2 separate regions of the Homo sapiens genome follow, and region 2 is linked to region 1. The links are contacts of gene promoters, found by promoter capture Hi-C in human tissues and cell types (Jung and others, 2019). All regions are on one chromosome and are shown on one strand. The core of a region is centred on a gene start or on the middle of the fragment in contact, and the rest is flanking DNA. Distances in the headings are between cores, read along the strand shown. Region 1 holds the start of HAP1 (huntingtin associated protein 1). Region 2 overlaps DNAJC7 (DnaJ heat shock protein family (Hsp40) member C7).

Region 1 (5,526 bases), core at 2,313-4,812:
CCACGTGGGGAGGTATACGGGCTGACACTGCCCTCTGGTGGCCGTAGCCAGAGTTGCTGGCTGCCAGTGCGCTGACCTAGAGGGTGTGGTCAGCTGGGGGAGCTTTCAGGGTCTCCTAACTTCATCTCTGTCTTCTCCATCCCACTGCCTCTGCCTTCTTCCCCGTCAAACTCTCCAGGGGTTTCCCAGGGCTTCTTCCTCATGGGGCCAGAAACAATTTAATTCAGCAGGAGTGTAATAGGCTTCTTCTGTATGCCCTGTTCTGTGCTTGGTGGTTGGGGCTGCAGAGATGTCCAAGGCACAGAGAGACAGTCCAGGAAGCTGGGCTGTGGGAGGACCACTCGGCAGAGCCTATGGAGCTGTAGCCTCACGGAAGCCTGGGCTGTGCCGATGCCCGAACAGCCACCTCCTTATGTTCTTCAACCTCACTGTCGTAGCAAACCCTGGGGTTGTGTGTCTCCTTCAAGCTTTCTGCTGACAAAGAAACCATAGGAAACATGCAGACTTTGGGCTGGGCACAGTGGCTCACGCCTGTAATCCCAGCACTTTGGGAGACCAAGGGGGAGGCGGATCACGTGAGGTCGGGAGTTCGAGACCAGCCTAACCAACATGGAGAAACCCCGTCTCTACTAAAAAGACAAAAGTAGCCGGATGTGGTGACGCATGTTATTGGGGAGGCTGAGGCAGAGGCAGGAGAATTGCTTGAACACGGGAGGTGGAGGATGTGGTGAGCCGAGATCGTGCCATTGCACTCCAGCCTGGGGCAACAAGAGCGAAACTCCGTCTCAAAAAAAGAAAAAAAAAAGAAAGAAAGAAAGAAAGAAAATAAAACATGCAGACTTTGAACAAGGAGGAGAACGGTTATGTTATGAAAGTTCCTCCATTTCCAGAAGTATTCTGGGAGATAAGCTCTCTTTTCTGCACCTGTTTTCTCCTCCCTGAGGGAACATTTCCATCAGCATGTAAACATATTGTCCTCTCTCCCATCTTCAAAACACACTCCCCAGCACTCATGTCCTCCTTCAGCTCCTGTGCCCTTTTCCAGCTCTCCTTTGTTGCAGATTTCTTCAATACAGTTTTCTATACTGTCTCCCTTCCTTCCTTCCTTCCTTCCTTCCTTCCTTCCTTCCTTCCTTCCTCCCTCCCTCCCTCCCTCCCGCCTTCCTTCCTTCCTTCCGACAGGGTCTTGCTCTGTCACCCAGGCTGGAGTGCAGCCTCGACCTGTGCTCAGGTGATCCTCCCACCTCAGCCCCTGAAGTAGTACAGGTATGCACCACCATGCCCAGCTATGTTTTTTTTTTTGAGACGGAGTTTCGCTCTTGTTGCCCAGGTTGGAGTGCAATGGCGCAATCTCGGCTCACTGCAACCTCCGCCTCCCGGGTTCAAGCGATTCTCCTGAGTACCTGGGATTACAGGCACCCGTCACCATGCTCAACTAATTTTTTGTATTTTTAGTAGAGACGGGGTTTCACTATGTTGGCCAGGCTGGTATCAAAATCCTGACCTCAGGCGATCCACCCGCCTAGGCTTCCCAAAGTGCTGGGATTACAGGTGTGAGTCACTGCGCCCGGCCAATTCTTGTATTTTTTTGTAGCGAAAGGGTTTTGCCATGTTGCCCAGGTTGGCCTCAAATTCCTGGGCTCAAGCAATTCACCCTCCTAAGCCTCCCAAAGTGCTGGGATTATAGGTGTGAGCCACAGCGCCTAGCCTTCTTTCTGTTTTCATTTTGTTACCTCTCGTTATTTCCTCACTCCTCTTTGGTCTCTCTCACCCCCTCTACCAAGACCGCTCTTTTTTTTTTTTTTTTTTTTTTTGAGACAAGTCTTGCTCTGTTGCCCAGGCTGGAGTGCAGTGGTGCAATCTCGGCTCACTGAAACTTCTGCCTCCTGGGTTCAAGCAATTCCCCTGCCTCAGCCTTCCAAGTAGCTGGGCTTACAGGCTTGTTCCACCACACCGAGCTAATTTTTGTATTTTAGTAGAGATGGGGTTTCACTATGTTGGCTGGGTTGGTCTCAAACTCCTGACCTCAGGTGATCCACCTGCCTTGGCTTCCCAGAGTGCTAGGATTACAGGTGTGAGCCACTGTGCCTGGCCCCGCAAGACCGCTCTTGCCGAGGCCATGACCCCAGCTCACCAAGGTTGCCCATGACCCCAGTTTGCCAAGCTGAGTCTCTGTCCTCAGTCTTTGCCTGGCCCAACAGCACCACCCAACACAGGTGGCCACTCTCTACATGAAACATTTTCTTTACTTTCTAGGACCCAACTTTCCTGGTTTTCCTCTACTTCACTGCCCCACTCATCCCAGTCTTCCTTTGATGCCTCCTCTTCTTCTTTCTGCCCTCTGAATCCTAGGGGGTTAGTCCTGGGCGCTCTTACCTGTCTTCTCTCAGTCTCTTGGGGATCTCACCAGTCTCATAGCTTTAAATGGTCATCAAAGAACAATGACTCCTACATTTAAATCTCCAGCCCGGTCTCTCCCCTACATTCAGATTTATACATCTAATTGTCTACCCAACATTTCCAGTAGGATACTTAAAAAAAAAGTATTCTATTTATTTATTTATTTTGAGGGGTAGGCTCGCTCTGTAGCCCCAGCTGGAGTGCATTGGCACAATTTCGGTTCACTGCAACCTCTACCTTCCAGGTTCAAGCAATTCTCCTGCCTCAGCCTCTTGAGTAGCTGGGACTACAGGCACACGCCACCATGCTTGGCTAATTTTTGTATTTTTAGTAGAGACAGGGTTTCACCAGGTGGCCAGGCTTGTCTGGAACTCCTGACCTCAGGTGATTCGCCTGCCCCGGCCTCCCAAAGTGCTGGGATTACAGGCGTGAGCCACTGCGCCCGGCTACAGGGAGACTTTTAAGAGGCGTCTCCCAAGGAGAACAGGGGTTCGCCAGCATGGCAAGAGGAGGGCAAAGCGAACTAGGGTTGGAGGTGAAGAACAGTTAATCCAATCAAATGGAAGACGTCGAGTGGCGCGAGCACTGGGGTGTGAGCGCGAGGGTCAGGGTTGCAGCGCCAGGCAGGGTTGCAGCGCCAGGCAGGGTTGCAGCGCCAGGCAGGGTTGCAGCGCCAGGCAGGGTTGCAGCACGTTGGAAGCGCACTGGAGTTTGGAATGTCTCTCCCAGTCAACCGGGAAAGACGCAGCGCTGCCCTAATGCACTGGCCACCCCAGACCGTATGCACAACGTTGGGTTGGCAGCTTCTACACCAGGGAAGGCACCCGAAACCCCGGCGCGGCAGCTGGGGAGGGGCTGCCCCCAGCCAGGGACCCGCGAGTGCTGGGGCAGCCGCGGCTTTGGGCAGAACCATTCTCCGGAGATGGAGAGGGCAGAAAAAATCTTTCGCTCCCATCCCAACTCGGAGCCATCCGGAACTTGCACTCGCCCTTCTTGCCCTGCTTTTCTTACTGTGCTCTGTTCCGTCACCACTAGCTCCCCTCCCGCGCGGCTCTGAGTCCCGCTTGCCACTAGTTGCTTCTCGGCAGCCCCCACCCCTACGCGTGGTCCGGCCCGGCGGCTGGCGCAGGTTATAAAGGTCCCGCCGCAGCAGCGGACGGCAGACTCGAGATGCGCCCGAAGAGGTTGGGCCGGTGCTGCGCGGGGAGCCGGCTCGGACCCGGGGACCCAGCAGCACTCACCTGTGCACCTTCGCCCTCAGCCAGTCCCGCTCCGGAGCCCTCTGCGCAGCCGCAGGCACGGGGCACTGGACAGAGAGTAGGATCCCGAGCCACCTCTGGATCCCAGTTCCTCTCGGAAGCCCGCACCGGAGCTCGCCCGGCCTCGGAGGCTGGAGCCAAGGCAGGAGCCCGGCGCCCGTCCGCATTCTCGGCCATCCAAGGGGATGTCCGGTCTATGCCCGACAATTCGGACGCGCCGTGGACCCGCTTCGTATTCCAAGGGCCGTTTGGTTCCCGGGCCACTGGCCGGGGGACTGGAAAGGCAGCGGGCATCTGGAAGACGCCAGCCGCCTACGTTGGCCGGCGACCCGGGGTGTCCGGCCCTGAGCGCGCCGCCTTTATTCGGGAGCTGGAGGAAGGTAAATCGGGCCCCCGGGGTCCTGGACCGGGTGGGGACTGGGGCAACTCCAGGGAGGAAGTGGCCCCATCGGGTCCAGGCACCCCGCCCCCTCTAGCACTCAGTGTCACCCGTCCACCACCCCCGCGATGTCACTGCGGTGTCTGTCTGGTCGCCCCTTCTCCATCTCCTCCTCTGCTCTTGTCCCCTGGTTTGTGCCCGTGAGTCAGGTTCTGGGGCCTGCACGCTCGCCCACCCACCTCCACGCGCCTCTTGCTGCGGCAGATCTGCACCCCTTCAGCGCCCCTCTCCTGGGTCTACCGCAGTGCCAGGAGAGGGGCGGGGGGCTGCGGGAGGGCGCTGTCCCGCGCGCTCTGAGTCTGCGCTGGCCGACCGGGCTTGCGTGCGATGGAGGGGTGGGTGGGCGGGCGGAGGGGGAAGTTTTGCCCACTTTTTGGTTGCGGGTATGGGGGCAAAGTCGCGCTCTTTTCCTGCCCCTTGTCTCTCCTATCCTCCTGCGGGTCGGGGGAGATCTCTGGATTGGGCCTAGAGGCTCGAGTGTCTCCTAATCTGGTGAAGTCTTCCTCCTGTCCTCTGCACACGCAACAGGTGCAGGGTGAGTGGCTGCGTCTGTTTGTATGACCCAGGAGACTCCATTGCACTGCCTCCTGGGTAGGGGGTGATGAGCCAGTCTGAGGCTGTACTTCCCCTGGCTGTCTCCATTCTAGGCGCCAGGGACCCAGGTGTCCGGAGAGCCCAGTTTCTGAGCCTGGAGGACTGTGACCCCCTTACCTCAGGCTCCTCCAGGGGTAAAAAAAAAAAAAAAAAAAAAAAAGCCGGGCGCGGTGGCTGACGCCTGTAATCCCAGCCAGCACTTTGGCAGGCCGAGGCGGGCGGATCACTAGGTCAGGAGTTCGAGACCAGCCTGGCCAACATGGTGAAACCCCGTCTCTACTAAAAATACAAAAATAAGCTGGGCGTGGTGGCGGGCGTGTATAACCCCAGCTACTCGGGAGGTTGAGGCAGGAGAATTGCTTGAATCTGGGAGGCAGACGTTGCAGTGAGCTGAGATCTCGCCATCGCACTCCAGCCTGGAGGACAAGAGCAAGGCTTTGTCTAAAAAAAAAAAAAAACCAAAAAAAAAAAAAACCAAAAAAAACCCAAAAACCTAAAAACCCTGTCCACTTGGCCCTGGGAGCAGGGAAGGGAGTGTTGAGTGCCGAGGGGTAAGGGGAGGATGTGGGGGGCAGGAGGGGAGCCCAGTCTTCTCTCCCGATGACCCTTGTTGGAGAACTGACGATAGGACGGGAAACAGCTGTTTGCTGGTAGCATCTGCTCCTTTTTCCTGACCTGGCTGGGCCTTTTCTCCCCACCTGCCGCCTCCTGCAGCACTGTGTCCTAACCTACCTCCGCCAGTCAAAAAGATCACCCAGGAAGACGTCAAAGTGATGTTATATTTGCTGGAGGAGGTGTGTACTGCCTTCCTGATCCAGGCAAGCCCTTATTCTA
Region 2 (5,526 bases), core at 1,512-4,011, 250 kb before region 1:
TCTCCCTTTATTTAGCGTGAAAGGTAGTATGCTTTATGGCAGGTCTGCACCTTTAAAAAAAAATCACTGAGTAGCTCTTGGAAGTCTTTCCATATTAGTACATGAAGAGCTTCTTCATTCTATTTTAGAACTATATAGTATTCCATTATATGAATGTCCATGTTAACTAACCAGTCTCCTGTGGATGGAATTTGAATTTTTCTGCTTGTAAGTTTTCAGAGTTTATCTCTTCCTGACCCCCATGGCCAAATTCTTAGAGGGAATAGGTGTCCCTTAACTCCAGATTTGTCCTTCGGTTCATTTATTCTCGGCGTGAATGTGATTCAGCAAGGCTCTCCCAGGAATAAATAGCAGCTAAACCAAAACTGAAAGCTCAGAGGACAAACTAGTAAAAAGAGAAAAACAGAATATATGGAGATGCTTTATGAGGCTGAAAGAGTAAATTAATCCCCACCTTTTTGTGTGTGTGATTGCTCCTTGGCTTGTGGTTTGTATAGTGGCATGTTGGGAATAGTAATCTGATGTAGCCTATTTAGAGCCATTTAAAATAACTATTTTAAGGCTGGGTGTGGTGGCTCACGCCTGTAATCCTAGCACTTCGGGAGGCTGAGGAGGACGGATCACGAGGATCAAGACCATCATGGCTAACATGGTGAAACCCTGTGTTTACTAAAAATACAAAAAAAAATTAGCTTGGGCGTGGTGGCGGGCGCCTGTAGTCCCAGCTACTCGGGAGGCTGAGGCAGGAGAATGGCGTGAACCCAGGAGGCAGAGGTGGCAGTGAGCCAAGATCCTGCCACTGCACTCCAGCCTGGGTGACAGAGTGAGACTCCATCTCAAAAAAAAAAAAAAAAGTGATAATATTGCCTATTTCATAAAATTCTTGTGAGGATTAAATGGGTTCATATATGAAAGTACCCAGTAAATGTTTACTGTCCTCATTATCATCTGGAGCCTTTGCTGTCCTCATTTCAGTGCTTTTATTTAATGAATTAGGTATGTTTTTAAACTTTGATATTACTTAGAAGTGGACCCAAAGACCTCATTGAGTTTTGAGTCTGTTACCTGTGACTAAACTAAAGTGAAGATGTTTCTGGAGTCCCTGATGAAGAGCCTTATTTGTTTTCTTCTTCCCTACAGGTTGTTTTCTGCATGGACCGTGCCCTAGAATTTGCCCCTGCCTGCCATCGCTTCAAAATCCTCAAGGCAGAATGTTTAGCAATGCTGGGTCGTTATCCAGAAGCACAGTCTGTGGCTAGGTATGCAGTCAGGCTAGCTGGACATTAAAATGCCAGATACCATTGGACTGATGGTGTCCGGCAGCTTCACCACAGGATATGGTCCCCAGAGTAGGCCAGCTAGGGCTGATCAGACCCTCTTGGGACTTAAAGTCAAAGATTAGACCAGCTTTGAAAACCCGTAGGGTATACAGGAGTATAGTAGTATAGCAGGTACTTGAGCTATATATGAAAGAACAGATTGTGTTTTTGTGGTTTTGTTTGTTTGTTTAAGGTAGTCCTTTTCCTTCTACTCCACTGGTTGGCACACTTTCTGCAAAGGGCCAGATTTTAGCCTTTGCAGGCCACAGGGTCTCTGTTGCAACTAACTCAACTCTGCCATTGCAGTGCAAAGGTTGCCCTAGATAATAGATGAACCAATGGGTGTGGCTGTTTGAATAGTGTTTTATTTACAAAAACCAGTGGCAGAAAGGATTTGGCCCTGTGGGCTGTAGTTTGCCAAACCCTGTTCTAGTTTAATAAGGATTGTAAGACACAAGATGTGTATTAAAGATAATTATAGGTGGTTTATTTGGGGAAAGTTTGGGAACAGTTCTTGGGAATCTGTCTACCTTTGGATATTTTGAATGCTAGACACATGGTCAAGGAGGAAAACTGGCCACAAATGGTAGTAATGGTGGGGACATTCTAAAGCACAGCTCAATGTGCCCTTTTCTGACTATTGCAGTGACATTCTACGAATGGATTCCACCAATGCAGATGCTCTGTATGTACGAGGTCTTTGCCTTTATTACGAAGATTGTATTGAGAAGGCAGTTCAGTTTTTCGTACAGGCTCTCAGGATGGCTCCTGACCACGAGAAGGCCTGCATTGCCTGCAGAGTAAGTTCTAGTCACCAGACCTAACTGGGAAAGAGCTTCCTTTTGGGACCTTTAAGATGGCTAGAGTGGAAGGTTTTAGAATCACAAGGAATGTGATAGCTTTTCCTCCTGCTTTGCAAGGATGCTTGGTCTTTATTAGAAATGGTTTCAGGACTACTTGTATTTACCTAAAGGTAGATGTGATCATATAGGGTCGGATGCCTTTAATATCTAAGAGGGTTTTTTTGTTTTGTTTTTCCCCTCAGTGAAGATAGATAGTAATACTTGTCCTGAGAAGTGAAGGCAGACCCAGTAACATAGGTCTCATTGGTATTTTTGGTAACTCTTTTCCTGTCCACTCTGTAGGAAGCTCAAATGAGCAACAGATAGCCCAGATTGGGGGTTGGCGGGGCTCTGTGATGCTGAACTGCTGGAAGCAAAGAACTTGAAAATAGAGTCTGGCCTCTCTGTGCAATGGTCTGAGGCTTTGTGGATATGAACCGATCCTCCCCTTGCTTTTTTCTGTAGAATGCCAAAGCACTCAAAGCAAAGAAAGAAGATGGGAATAAAGCATTTAAGGAAGGAAATTACAAACTAGCATATGAACTGTACACAGAAGCCCTGGGGATAGACCCCAACAATATAAAAACAAATGCTAAACTCTACTGTAATCGGGGTACGGTTAATTCCAAGGTAAGCTCTTGATCTAGATCTTGGGGCCTATAGAAATATTTTTAAGGGACATCAAAGGGTCTTGGGAAATCTGCCTAGTGAGGGTAAGCAAGATGAAAGAGGGAAAGTTGTTATGGTTAATAGTTTGTTAGGAACTCCCTTCCAAGAGGCAAGCTTTTGTCATCTCTATGGAATTTGAGGGCAGTTGGACAATTTGCAAGGATATTCTCACCTGTTCATTAAGGTCCCTTTCCTCCAGTAAGAGAATGGCTAGGGTCTGTGGGATAATCTTAAGCACCTACTGTTGCTTTTTTGTTGTTTTGCTTATGCAAGTGATCATTTATTTTTTAGGAGTGATTTGGAGGAAGAGTATGAGGCAAGCTTGTTTTTCTCCAGTGTAATTGATGGTCACCATGCATGGTTGAAAATGGCCTGAGTGCTTTTGTGGCCCTACCCAACATCAGAAACAAAAAGTAGACTCCTTGCCCTTGCAGAATTCTAGCAGTTAAAAATCAGAGTGATTTCTGATCCCTGCAGGTGACCTCTGGAAAAAAGGAGGGCAGGAACCAGCCTTACTATTTTCATGTTTTCATTGGGCACTAACATGGAATGGTAAAGGTAGTTTATCCTTGAAGACAGATGTGCCTGGCTTGTATCATATACAAGAGAAATCAATTTTGAAGTTGCTGTCCATAGCCCTGGTGACAAAGAACTAGAACTTAATATGACATTTAAGGGGCCAGCATGACTGATCCTCTTAGAGTTTTGAAGCCATGCTCACAGCTTCTGGGCTCCCTCAGTCACCAAAGGTGTGAAGTATGATTGCTCTCTCTCTCCTGAAGCTTAGGAAACTAGATGATGCAATAGAAGACTGCACAAATGCAGTGAAGCTTGATGACACTTACATAAAAGCCTACTTGAGAAGAGCTCAGTGGTAAGTGCCTCTGATGGGTAGGGGGAAGAGGGAGTTGCCGCTGGCCTCAGGGGAATTGCCTTGTGGATGACGAAGCAGACCCAGAGATGTTGTGAGGTCATTTGGTCCTTCCCCCTGCCTCTAGGTGGGATTGTTCCAGCCCTAGACTATCTTTATAGACCTCCAGCGGAGGAGATTGCACAAGCTCCCTCAGTCTCCCATGCCTGTGTCTAACGCCCCTCACGGTCAGTAAGTTTCCTCTGATGCCTGACCCAAATTCCTTTTGTTAAAAAGTTTAAATCCATTTCCTTTGGAGATTTTATTTTGTGTTGTACACTTATGCTCTACCCTGGCACAGTGCTTGACACATAGGTGCTCACTGAATAAATGTTTTGTTGAATGAATGTATGGTGCTTGGAAGAGAAAACAACTCTTGGAGACAGTTGAGAGTTGTACTTCATCCTGTTTGTTCTGGGCGAGGGAAGACAATCTTAGAGTTGGAAGAGATGTAATCCGGCTCAGCCTCCCAGGATAAAGGAACTTCCTTTTGAAACACCCTGGATGGCTACTCTCTGCTTGAGTGTTTTGAGTGGAGGGCACTCTGTGTCTGACAGGGTGATTATGAGCCAGGATGTGCCTACCTCTAATGCTCACATTTGCCCCAGAGTCAGGGTGCTCCCTGGCATGGTTGCTCCTCTTACTCTTAGACCCACCAGCTGGTTTTCTCCAGATAGGAACAGGGCTAGGAGAAATCTTTCTCAGAAATCCATCTCTTCTGATTTCAGATTATTCTCTAGGCGGAGAAAAACTTCCCGTCTTTAAAGTTCTTAGAGAAGATGTATTTATTGTATACTAATCCTCCAGCACCTGCTCCACTCCTTATTATAAAATGTCATATCCAAAGAACAGATGCTGTCACTGATGCCTGATGAGCCAGTAGTTTAAGCTTCCTTGTCTCATCAGTGGTACAGAATATCTCATGGACTACCTCCCACTTAGTTTTCTCAAAATTATCTCACTTAAAATAGGAAAACTGCTGCTGTGTGTGATGCTTTTTTTAAAAGTGAATTTCTAAGTTGATGACTAAGTCTGTCCAACAGAAACATACAGGGAATTATAACTTCTGTGAGACTGACTGTCAGTCATTCCATCTTTGCAAACCACTGGCACACAGAAGCAGAAGCTTTGGAAGACAAAAAAAGCACCCTTTGATTCAGCCAAAGACTGACTTTAACAGACGCAAAATGCTATATACATGAAGGTGTTTGCTGCAATTTTATCTATAATAGCAAAAAAAAAAAAAAAAAAAGGCGGGGGGAGAATCACCTACATGTCCAGTGGGAAGGGGGTGGCTAGATACTTGATACTGTATGAACTTAATGGAATGCTCTGTATATGGAATGCCAGGGGATGGGAAGAGAAGAGAAAAATCGCTTTGTTTTATTTTTTGGGATGGAGTCTCGCTATGTCGCTCGGGATGGAGTCTCGCTATGTCGCTCAGGCTGGAGTGCAGTAGCACCGTACTGGCTCACTGCAACCTCCACCTCCTGAGTTCAAGCGAATTTCCTGCTTCAGCCTCCGAAGTAGCTGAGATTACCGGCGCATGTCACCACACCCAGCAAATTTTTGTATTTTTATTGGAGATGGGGTTTCATCATGTTGGCCAGGCTGTTCTCAAACTCCTGATGACAAGTGATCTGCCTGTCTTGGCCTCCCAAAGTTCTGGAATTACCAGCAGGTGTGAGCCACCGCGCCCGGCCTTTTTTTTTTTTTTTTTTTTTTTTTTTTTTTTAAGCAAGCCCCCAACACCATAGAAAATTCTTGATTTGCTCGGAGGATAATT

The links. Contacts are between HindIII fragments. The study calls those that stand out against the background at their distance.
Region 2: a fragment that was not itself captured here is called in contact with the fragment with the promoter of HAP1 in region 1 in 4 of the 25 tissues and cell types used here (H1 embryonic stem cells, mesendoderm cells, pancreas and 1 more).

Annotation. Positions count from the first base shown.
Region 1 is chr17:41,732,679-41,738,204 of GRCh38, reverse strand. HAP1 (huntingtin associated protein 1) reads left to right here and starts at 3,562. Exons shown (of 11, transcript NM_177977.3): 1 at 3,562-4,039; 2 at 5,407-5,486. The coding sequence starts at 3,571. RefSeq lists an enhancer at 4,131-4,673. The HindIII fragment of the contact is 15,187 bases long and covers 1-5,526 here.
Region 2 is chr17:41,985,997-41,991,522 of GRCh38, reverse strand. DNAJC7 (DnaJ heat shock protein family (Hsp40) member C7) reads left to right here. Exons shown (of 14, transcript NM_003315.4): 6 at 1,141-1,259; 7 at 1,966-2,119; 8 at 2,627-2,791; 9 at 3,613-3,704. Among named protein-coding and RNA genes, the nearest start is that of CNP, 22 kb to the right of the region's middle. RefSeq lists enhancers at 2,578-3,078, 3,079-3,579. The HindIII fragment of the contact is 3,975 bases long and covers 774-4,748 here.